3 separate regions of the Homo sapiens genome follow, and all the other regions are linked to region 1. The links are contacts of gene promoters, found by promoter capture Hi-C in human tissues and cell types (Jung and others, 2019). All regions are on one chromosome and are shown on one strand. The core of a region is centred on a gene start or on the middle of the fragment in contact, and the rest is flanking DNA. Distances in the headings are between cores, read along the strand shown.

Region 1 (3,958 bases), core at 645-3,144:
TGCCTAGAAAAGTCAATGGCACCATTAACCTCAAACTTAACCAGGTTAGAATTTTTGTGTCTCCTCCACCTTTTCTCTAGCTGCCAATCCCAGTGACCCATCAGTTTTATTCATGAGGCTATTCCCGATCTCATGCTATACACCAGGCCTTCATTATCACTTGCTTCAACCACAGGTGATCCTCAGTGATATAGTCTGATTTTAAATTTACATTTTCAAACATTGTAGTTTACTCTTTCAAATCATTTTTTTTTTCATATGCCAAGTTGGGACTTGAAAGTCTTTTTTTTTTGACAGAGTCTCACTCTGTCCCCCAGGCTGGAGTGCAGTGACACAATCTCGGCTCACTGCAACCTTCACCTTCACCTCCTGGGTTCAAGCGATTCTCCCGCCTCAGCCTCCCAAGTAGCTGGGAGTACAGGCACCCACCACCCCATCAGGCTAATTTTTGTACTTTTAGTAGAGGCGGGGTTTCACCGTATTGATCAGGCTGGTTTCGAACTCCTGACCTCAAATAATCCACCCACCTTGGCCTCCCAAATGCTGGGATTATAGGAGTGAGCCATGGCGCCTGACCTTAAAAGTCTTATATCACTTTTTCACATGACAAGTTTAGATTTCATAATCAGCTGATGAATAAATACTTTCAGTCCATGCACAGTCTGTGCCATCTGATACCTCTGTTTCAGCAAGGTAATCACTTCTATCTATAAAGCATTGTTTGTGCAATATTTTAATAGGATTAATAGGCTCAAATGAACCACAGATCTGTCAACTGAACTTGCAGTCTGGCCACTCTTGTAACAAATATTCATTTCATTAAGCACCTTTAATATGACAAATGATGTGCTAAGTACCAAGTACTTTGTCATAGTGACAAAGCAGACACTCTTACCCTCATGGAATTTGTACTATATATTGTGGGTAAAAAGGGATCCAATAAATAAACTCCCCAAAAATATATGGCTGGTGTTATTTATCTTGATAGGTGTTAGTACATAGTCTTAATAATTATCAATAATATATTACTATATGTATTTAACATATTGTACCGTAGGCCCAATATCTTTCAGTGCAAAAATACTCAGCTGAAATACGTTTTTCATTTCAAATACTTATCTATATTGATTACAACATTCTAATTTAGTGTTTTACTTTCCATTTCCAAATATTCTTTCATCAATATTATCTGTTCTTCTTTTCATCATAAATGTATTTATTTCATCTATTAGTATTTTCTATAATCTATATTTTAAGTCATTTCAGCTCTTTTTATATTTCTTAAACCTTTTAAAAGCATAATTGTATGCTAAAAGTGGGTGAGGTTTTAAAACTAAGTGCCTAAGACATAATATAAATATTTTATTGTTCTCTATTACATTAAAAAGTGGTAACCTATTTAATTCACATGCTATGGTCAAATTTTAATTTCAATAATATGACACAAATAAATACTCAGAAATGCTGACAAATCTTATCACCTGTGAAACTCAAATGTTTTCAGGGGTCATGAAGATAGCATACTTGTCTCATCCAATGACTTTCAAATTCATCCTTCTTTAAAATGTTGTGCTGGACTTTGGAGACACAAATGTGGCCTTCCAGAGTGACAGGCCTTATAACAATCCTTGTAACAATTACTACTTTATTTTTACCTGTTAATATTTATATATTAATAAACCCAACTGAACCTAAGAGAATATCTAAGACAAGTACATTTGTGTATGTGTGTGCCTTCATGTATGTGATTTTTATGTACATGATGAACTGTCTTAATTATAAAGAAAAGGAAAAAAACATGATGCTATGAGAAAAAAATGAACATTCAACTGAGCAGAGCAGAAGATATTTTTATATTTCCTGATACAAAAATCTAACTTCAGTTCCGGTCTGGCAGAGAGCGCGGAGAGACGCAGAACGCAGCCAGCTCCTCCAGGGCCCTCCAGGCCCTCCGGACCCGGGCCGGCGGGTGAACTGGGGGGCCCCGGGACAGGCCGAGGCCTCTGCCCTGCAGATACCGGAGGCCTCTGCTGTGGCTGCCCACTGGCTGTGCCCAGGCCTTGAAGCCGCAGCGAACCTCTCTTTCCCACCCCACCTGGATGACTGATGGCGGCGGCTGCGTCTCCCCGACGGGACCCCGCCGGCCGCCGCGTCTCCCGACCCAAGCCTGCCGGGCCTCGACGAAACCCCCGCAGAGTCGCTGGGACGCAGCGCCTTTGGGCGGCGCCGGGCGTGGTGGGCCGGAAAGTATGGCGGCCGCTTGAACGCCGCGCGGCGGAGGCCATTAAGGCGTGGAGGGCCCGGGAAGGCGGCCTAGGGACGCAAGCAGGCTCGGCCACCTCTTTAGGCCACGGAGCCGCGCAGATCCGGTTCCCGGGTGACCACTCTGTCGCCATTGGGCGAGACCGACCTAGTCCTGACGACAACGGACAAAGGCCTTCAGGGGCCTGGAAGGTGAGTGAAGTCCCGAAAGACGACGGGTGGAACGGTTAGCGGCTATCGGGCGGTTGGTCTTTGTTCTACCAGACTTTGCTGTCAGAAGAGAGAAATGGTAGAATGACAGGCCACGTTTGGCCCGTTGGAAATGCCCACCACCCTCTGGGAAGATTTACTGGCCGTTTATGTAAGGCCTGTGTATATAATATGAAAAAGCTGCTCTCAACTTCACCCCAACCTTTTAATAGAAAACATTTGTCACATCTAGCCCTTCTAGATGGAAAGAGGTTGCCGACATATGATAAAATAGAAAGTCACACATCTTGTAAATTCTCATTTGTTTAAAAGAAATCATAGAAAACACATGTCTTCTGGAGATGACTTTTAGAAATGGAGTTGTTAAGACGGCCTCTGGAAGCGATACGTCCACGTTTGTTAAGTGGGTTAGATGACATGGAGGTGGAAGACCTGAGAAGGAAGAGAAGAAGGTTCTGTGCTAGACTGGTCATATTTAGAAGACATTTTCATATTCTATCCATTGTTTTGTGTGCATTTTATTCTTCACTACTGTGTATATAGTTGACAATGCTAAGCTTTTTTGAAATGTCTATTCTTTTTAGATGTTCTGAAGTGCCTGATATGTTAAAATTAGAGGTAGCAAAATCACATTTTGTAAATACCTTTTTGTTACAAATCATAGGAAATGTTTTTTGGGGGGAATGGCCAAATCACCTGTTGAGTAATGCTCATTGTGCAGTGTGGTTCAGGGGAAGAGAGAGGAGGGGGAGGTGCAGAGAGCTCTATGACATCCTGTTTACAGCGAGGCAAGATGAATCATTATCTCTGTGCGTTTTGTTTTACTTATCTGTGTATATAGTGTACATAAAGGACAGACGAATCCTAATTGACAACATCTAGTCTTTCTGGATGTTAAAGAGGTTGCCAGTGTATGACAAAAGTAGAGTTAGTAAACTAATATATTTTGTACATTTTGTTTTACAAGTCCTAGGAAAGATTGTCTTCTGAAAATTTGATGTATTCTGGGTTGATGGAAATGGGAAGGGTTCTAGGCCAGAATGTTCACATTTGGAAGACTCTTTCAAATTATAACTGTTTTTACATGTTTGCAGTTTATTCAAGACTGCTGTATACATAGTAGACAAATTAACTCCTTACTTGAAACATCTAGTCTATCTAGATGTTTAGAAGTGCCCAATGTATGTTAAATGTAGAGGTAGTAAAATACCACTTTGTAAATATCTTTTTGCTAAAATTCATAGGAAATACTTCTGGAAATTGAATTGTGAAGCCACCTTTGTGAGCAGTATAGTAATGTCTATACTTGTTCAATGGTTTAGAGGAAGTGGGAGGGAAGAAATTGCAAAAGGTAATATACTAGTGTGTTCATACTTGGACGTTTTCAGACACCATTTTTCTATATGTTTTGTGCATTTTGTTTTGCTCTGTATATAGTGTATATAATGGACAAATAGTCCTAATTTTTCAACATCTAGTCTCTAGA
Region 2 (3,958 bases), core at 387-2,886, 1.5 Mb after region 1:
ACAAATAACTGCATGTGGAGCGGTTCCCTCAACCTTTTCCCTTTCATGTCTTTTAAGCCCATCAGGCAAATTGAGCTGATAAGCATTGCCCTGATTCCCCGGAGTAACACTGAGAGCTGATTATCTATACAGGCTGCCAGAAGTTAGTACCTGAAACACCACAGCTGCAATCATGGTGACAATTGCTACTAAATTAATATGTGACAGTGCCAGGTGCTGTTCTAAGCTCTTGACAAATAGTAACTCATTTAACTAGTAGTAGCTGATACAGCATTTTATAAGAAACTTAAATCAAAGTGATTCACCTGTGTTTGGAGACGAAAAATAAAAAAGGCATAGTATCAACCCATTACTATTCTGTGCTCTGGGCAGGCCCAGTCCTCCCATGGGAGGCAGTGACGAAGCCACAGGCTGCCAAGATCACTCTACCCCGGCACCCTCCCGAGGCACAAGGAGGATGAACATTTCCCTCTCCCTATGCCCATTTTGTTTAAGCAGCAATGACAATGAGGAGGCCACATGAGACAATGTGGATATAACTCCGGATCTATTACTTACCCTCTTGGTCTGATTAAAAGCAGGAGCAGGAGGTCCCCATGCTTAGAGGCTCTCTCCAACCCATGGCTCCAAATAACTTTTTATGCTTCACTCAAAATCTCCCATTCCTACCAGCCATTCCTTTCTGTGGTACAAAGCCCTCCCTTCCCCATGTTCCCCAACCTTCCCCAAAGGGAACCAAGGGAACCACAAGGTGGCTGAGCTCCAGATGACCACGGGCTTTAATTACCCACTGTCTTTTCCTTGCAATGCCATAGCACAGGGGGTGTCTGCTGCCAGGCTATCCAGGGGAGAACATGCCAGGCAGCTCAATCTAGCTTTTCCTCAGCTTGGTCAGAAGCTCTCAATCTTAATATTGGACAAAGACAAACCCACCACTGAACAGCCTGGGTTTTCTTCTTGTTTGACTCTCTTGTCCTACCATGTTTAGAAGCCTGTGCTGTTTCTCCTAAATGTATCATTCTAGCCCCTTAAATAGAAATTGTGTTAACTGGCATATTCTTGGTGCCTTTCCCTTTCCCTCTGATATAGACTTGACCTCTAAATTTTCCCCTTTGACCAATACCTTCACTCAACACTTACTGATCACAAAACATGTCTAGAAGAAATCGAGAATATGACTAGAAAAGAAGGTTTTGCAAAAAGACTAAAAGTGGGTGGCTTTGGAGGACAACTACTTGCCCCTCCTAGGATTTTACCCTAGCAAGGCTAGTTCCAGGGCTACTAAGGAGAGTGGTCCCAAGGATATTACCTAAGCCAAGTGACCTTTGCCTTGGTGCCCATCCCCTTAGAGGTCTACAGGCCAAAACAGTACAAAAAGCAAGATGGCAGAGTCAGATGGAGATAATGCCTGGTTTAGAGGCAGGAGGGCCAGGATGGTATTGCATGCAGGACAGTAATGTTTACTAAGCATCTGGGAATAGGACTTCGCTTGATCCAAAATGACTGGGAAAAAGCTCCATGGCACATCTGATAAGAAAGGAAATTAACCCAAATCCTTATCTGGGTTCCTGACTAAGAAGAACTGGAAACTCTCATCACTGGTCAAGATGAACCTGTCATCACTGGCCATTCCTATACAAGTACAGAAATGCATGAAAACTTTTAGATCACCTTGTACATAATGTATTGAAAATATAATCAGGAGTTGTGATAGGTGAATGATGGGAGGACCTCTAGTTTGGGCCTAAAGAGATGATGTTTAGGCTAAACTCAGGCAATTAAAAGAAATTAACTGTCTTTCAGGGGCATGCATTGCAGAAGAGGAAGCTTATACAAGTCTCTAAGGCAGGAACAAACTTAGGGGACAGACACAAAGACAACCATGGCTGAAGCCTACTGCCAGGAGGGGTGAGGGAGGCAAGGGCAGGCACTGGCAAGGTCCGCAGGACCCAGGCCCTATGCAGCTTCTAGGGAGAGGGGTCTGGATTTCTTTGCAAATCAGATGGACAGCCCCTGGAAGCTTTTAACCAGGAGGGTGATGTGATCAACTTAGATTAAAAAGACAACCTCCAGATGGTCTATGGAGAACACCCGAAAGGGGAAGAGAATACAAATATGAAGGCCAAGCAAGAGGCTGCTGTAGTACTCCAGGCAGGATGTGATGGTAGCTTTCACCAGGCTGGACATAGTGGAGAGGGAGGAAGCTGCATCCATTTGGGAAATGCTTTAGAGGTCATCTCGACAAGACTTTATGGTGGATTGGATGTGAGTTAAACGGGAGAAGGGAATCGAGGGTGGACCTCTAGGGTTTTGGCCTGAGTGACTCTGGGTGGATGGTGGGGCTAATACAGGAGTTATTAAGAAATAATTTTCAGGCAGATAGAGAAGGTAAAAGGAGTTCTCAGTCAGGGTTTTTCTTTTAATGAAAGCAACCTCCAAACTATTTCTTTTCTAACAGAAAGGTACTTAAAGAGGGCCAGGCGGGCAAGCTTTGATATGCAAATGCACGTCATTAGAAACTGGGTCCACCCAATATGGCAATTCCCACCTTCTTCTTCTTGTCACCAGGTATGCCAAGTGTCATGGGCACCTCCAGATAACTCCACATGTTTGGGACATCATGGCAGGCCCGCATGTGCATACTAAAGGGCTAAGTTGGGATGGCCAGGTTTTTTGCCAGCTACGTGAATGACACACCTGTTCAAACCAATCCCTTGGGCCCTATACAAATCAGACACCGCCTCCTCCAGCCTCCCGTATAACCAACCACTTTTCTGCCACACACAGGGTTTCTCTTTGCTTGGATCCCCCTCCCTCTGTCTCTGTATGGGGGAGCTGTTTTCTTCTTCCTTTCCTCTTTCTTGCCTATTAAATTCTCTGCTCCTTAAAACCACTCCAGACTTGTGTCCATGTCGGTCATCATGAGACCAAGGACTCTGGTGTTCCTCCAGTCATCGGAGCCATATCATTTTGGTGCATTGGCCGGGAATTCATTCAACGGATTGGTGAGTACAGAGTGGAGCAAATCTCAAACTCAAATCTGTCCTTTAATCTCAAGGCTCTCTTCCTGCTATTCTGTCGCCAAACTTTCTTTCTCTTTCTATCCGTGGTCTCTTACTCTCTCTGTGTGTGTAGAATGTGCAGGAATTTTTACAGCCTAAGGGAGTAATCCTGTTAAGCAAGATCAGGAAATGCTGTAGCACTGGGGATATAGCTCAGGAAAATGTCCTTGCAATCTTCTAGGAACAGAGATTCCCACCCCTCCACGCCATCCCCCCAATGCCACCTCCCCCACCACACCACCACCTCCCCACCACGTGGTGAGGTTACTTGCTACTAATTCGCTGGTAAGACATGGTATTCCTAAGACAATAGCGCCACCTAGTGGAAATAGAAATTCTGGCCAGGTACGGTGGCTCACACCTGTAATCCCAGCACTTTGGGAGGCCGTGGCGGACGGATCACATGAGGTACGGAGTTCGAGACCAGCCTGACCAACACGGAGAAACCCCATCTCTACTAAAAATACAAAATTAGCCGAGCGTGGTGGCACATGCCTGTAATCCCAGCTACTCAGGAGGCTGAGGCAGGAGAATCGCTTGAATCTGGGAGGCGGAGTTTGCGGTGAGCCGAGATGGCGCCATTGCACACCAGCCTGGGCAACAAGAGCGAAACTCCGTCTCAAAAAAAAAAAAAAAGAAAAAAAGGAAAAGAAAAAAATCCTCTCCGTAAGACACATTGCTGGTTCTCTGCAGTATATTACAGCTTTCCAACTTTTCCTTTTTGCGCCTTTTCTACTGGAAGCTAGGCTCTGATCTACTTCTGTAAAAGGGAAATTTCTGCCTTTTGCAGTTAGGAGTAAGATGTCTTCTGCAGCCAAATTTTGTCACGATATTGACCCATCAGCAGAAAAATGGCCATTTAGTTCCTATGTTCTTTTAAGGAAACTATTCTGTCT
Region 3 (3,958 bases), core at 600-3,099, 1.4 Mb after region 1:
GATACATCCTACGACTTGGATGAACCTCAAAAACATTGCACTAAGTGAAAGAAGCCAGACACAAAAGGTCACACGTTGAATGATTCCTTTTGTATGACATATCCAGAATAGGCAAATCATATAATAAAAACAAAAAGCAGATAAGTGGTTAACTGGGAATGAGGGGAGGGGACAATGGAGAGTGAATATTTAATGGTATGGATGCTTTGGGGAGTGAAAAAAGGTTTTGTAACTCCAAGGAAGTAGTTGTACAGCATTGCAGATATACTAAGTACCACTAAATTGTATACTTTATAATGGCTAACTACATGTTATATTAATTTCACCTCAATAATAAATAAAATCACCCTCTGCTAGTAAGATGGATTAATTTTTGCAAACTGGTAAGCAGTTCTGATTTTCTTATATTTTTGTTTGTTTGTTTGTTTAATTGAGATGGAGTCTCACTGTGTCACCCAGGCTGGAGTGCAGTGGCATGATCCCGGCTCACTGCAAACTCTGCCTCCTAGGTTCAAGCAATTCTCCCACCTCAGTCTCCCGAGTAGCTGGGATTACAGGCACACACCACCACACCCGGCTAATTTTTTTATTTTTAGTAGATGGGGTTTTGCCATGTTGGCCAGGCTGGTCTCGAACTCCTGACTTCAGGTGATCTGCCTACCTCAGCCTCCCAAAGTGCTGGGATTACAGGTTTGAGCCACCACATCCAGCCAGATCTTATTATCTTGACAGTGAAAGAGGATCTTTTCCTGCAATTTACAGCCAAACCTATGGGTATAACCAAGTGTCTGCTTCCAAGGGGGAAAGCGTTCTAACTCTTTTTATTACTTATCTGGGGGCAAAATTTATGGGCTGTAGCAACAGTCAGTTGGAATTCTAGTATGTGAGTTATACTGAGGGGCAGGCCTAATGGTTAGGCTCTTCTTTTTTAACAGCAACATTAAATAACAGTAAGAATAATTCCTGGATACAGACAGAGTTCACTTAGATATTTGGCAAAATTTGCCATGTTCTCATCTCATCTCATGATATACGTGATTTATCTTCTAGAAGGAACTACATATCTTATTGGCTGTGATATATCATGGCTCGTTTTTCCAGGCTCAGTTGATCTTAATTTTTCCCAAATGACTTTAGACATATAGTCACTACTCTTCTGTCCCAAGCACTGCTCTTGCCTGTCACAGACACCTCCAAATAAATACTGCCCGGACTTTTGAGGGGTGGAAGTTGGAGATATTTGCAAGGGCTTCTTGGTATATTAGTTCACTTTTGCTACATCCTAAACTACCCTAAAACTCAGAGGCTTAAAATAACAATGTTCTTCAACTCACAATTCTGCAGGTCAGCAATTTGGGCTAGGCTCAACCTGGCAGTTTTTCTATGGTCTTGTTCGTGCATTTGCAGTCAGCTGCAAGATATGCAGTCAGTTGGCAGTTGGCTGATCCGCTGGGCAGGCAGGGGTTGGAGGAATCCTAAGTAGCCTCACTTGGATGTCTGGCAGGTGGCCACCTGTCAGCTGGGACACTTGGTCCTTCTCCATGTGGTTTCATCTTCCACCAGGCTAGCCCAAGCTTGTTCACTTGGTGGCAGTGTCCAGAATTCACACAGTGTCACTTCTATCACATTCTTTCAGTCAGAGAGAGCCACAGGGCCAACCCAGATTCAAAGGGGTGGGAACACATCTCCCTACTCTCTTGTTTGGAGATGTATTGTGAGCATTTTTGCAATCTACTACAACTGAACTCACTATTCTTGCTATAGTAACCCACTACTTCCCACACCAATTGCTCCTGGATGCCATCCTGACTTTGATAGCCTCCAGGCATGAGGCCCACTTGGTCACTGATTCTTTGTGCTCATGCTCTTCTTTCCCTCAGCTGGTTTGGGTTACCAGTTTCTTCTTTCCTCTGATTCTACATGGATTTAGTCTCAAAAAATCCCCATAGTTTCTGATCTATTGATAATTTACTTATTTTTTTAGCATGGCCATGTATTCATGTAGAGCTAGTGTAACCATATGATTTATCATTCAAATTGTGACTTCTAAGAATGAAATGGGACACTATAAATAATCATGCTAGGACACCAAGCATAAACTGAGATGTCTCTGCTTAAAGCCCAGTGGTTATAAGCACAGGTTCTTGGACCCATATTGCTGGGGTTGGAATCTCAGCTCTGACAATTATTTGCCAGTTACTTAAACTCTTGGTGACAGTTTTCTCATCTATTAAATGTAGATAATAATAGTACTCACTTTAGAGGTTTTTTGTGAGGTTTAAATGAGATAACTTATATAAAATACGCATTATTTTTACATCATTTCTAAGGTCTCAAGTGGATGTGAGAATTACCTTCTTCATTTAATATTCTATCATATTCATGTATCACAAGATAAAGTTATTTCATAATCTTTGTATAATCAGTTTTAATGACTATATACAGTTTCATTAAAGGTTCTATAATTTACCTGAAAACTCTTCTATTAAATATTTAGATCATTTACACTTTTCCCTTATTATAAATTACGTTAAAATTTCATTGTGGATAAATACTTTGGCAATAAATTAAGTTCTTATGTTAATTCTAGAAAAAAGAATATTATATTAAAGAATATAAATATTTTAAGGATCTTGTTATATGTTGCCAAATTGCTTTCTCAAAGGATTACATTAATGCTTTCAAACAATAATCAGGAAGTTCTAACTTTAATACAACCTCATCAGCATTGAGTATCACACAACTTAATCTGCTGTACTCATTTAAAACACAATTTTAACAAACGTATTTTCTGGTTTCCCAGCCCTCACAAATTAAAAGCAAAAAATTCAAAGCAGTAAAAACTAATATTGGAAAAGGTATTTAGGCAGATTTTCTGATCACTTGGTAGTGAAAAGAAAGAAATATAAATATAAGAAATAAAATCCTAGACATCTTAGATCATTTAATGGCTAAACACATCTTCAGTCTTTAAAGTCCATGACATCATTGTTTGTTGCAGTATATAACAGTTAATGTTCATTGTAATAATACTAAATGATCCATCAACAAAAATCCAGATGACAGTAAACAAATTTTTGACAGAGCAGGAGCATCACCATCTTGGACAAGCCCCTCATTCTAAAGTTCACCTTAATAAAAAAAAAACGCCTAAATCCAAAGGGTATCAGCCTAATGGCTAAGGTCAGCATAAACCACAATAACCACAAATAACATCTCCAACCAGAAACATTCCAAACTCCTCCCCAATCAGAGACTTGCCAGCCCCGAGATAACCCCCCGCCAGCCAGGAAGATGCCAGCTCCGAGATAACCCCACTCCAAGCCAGAAAGATGTCTGCCCCAAGATAAACTCCCCTCCTCCCAGAGACATTCCAACCCCACCATAAAACTTGTCCCTCACACAGAAACATTCCAAGCTTCTAATAAGCCCCCTTACCCTAAAACCAATATGTTCTCTTAGTCTGTAAGAGAAAGTGCTCCTAACCAAAGTCAGCCAGAAGCCCCTCTCAGGTTTTATCAAAAGTAAACCTGTCTTTACTGTCAAACCACATTTCGTGTCTCTTTCCTGTTTCTTTAACTCTTACAATTTTGTTTTAGGGAGATTTCCATTAACAAGTAAAAATAAAATTTATGCTGAAAGAGGCCATCTCTGGCTGGCTGTATTTTCTTTTTAGACCTTGAATTGGTGTGAAGAGTCATAAGGGTTTGCTAAAGGAGGAGTGAGAAAGTGGGGAGGGTGTGAGCTCCATAATCAGGAATAAAAACCGGGGGTACAAGACCAGGGCAGAAAGTCATTTTAAAATTCCAGAACTTCTGACACATCTTCATATTGGTTATCATTTGTTATCTCCTTCCTATTTTCCTTGGAAGCAGAAGGGCCTGTCTACATATATTCTTGTCTTCCCAAGCAGCAAGGAAGTGGGAAGTTGAGAAAGCTATTTCCTCTCCACACTTTT

Evidence for each region. Contacts are between HindIII fragments. The study calls those that stand out against the background at their distance.
Region 2: a fragment that was not itself captured here is called in contact with the fragment with the promoter of OVCH1-AS1 in region 1 in 1 of the 25 tissues and cell types used here (H1 embryonic stem cells).
Region 3: a fragment that was not itself captured here is called in contact with the fragment with the promoter of OVCH1-AS1 in region 1 in 1 of the 25 tissues and cell types used here (spleen).

Annotation. Positions count from the first base shown.
Region 1 is chr12:29,387,400-29,391,357 of GRCh38, forward strand. It overlaps OVCH1-AS1 (OVCH1 antisense RNA 1), which reads left to right and starts at 1,895. Exons shown (of 2, transcript NR_073172.1): 1 at 1,895-2,454. The HindIII fragment of the contact is 7,391 bases long and covers 1-3,958 here.
Region 2 is chr12:30,841,345-30,845,302 of GRCh38, forward strand. No RefSeq gene overlaps it. Among named protein-coding and RNA genes, the nearest start is that of LINC00941, 48 kb to the left of the region's middle. The HindIII fragment of the contact is 4,014 bases long and covers 1-3,643 here.
Region 3 is chr12:30,781,163-30,785,120 of GRCh38, forward strand. No RefSeq gene overlaps it. Among named protein-coding and RNA genes, the nearest start is that of LINC00941, 13 kb to the right of the region's middle. The HindIII fragment of the contact is 4,641 bases long and covers 1-3,958 here.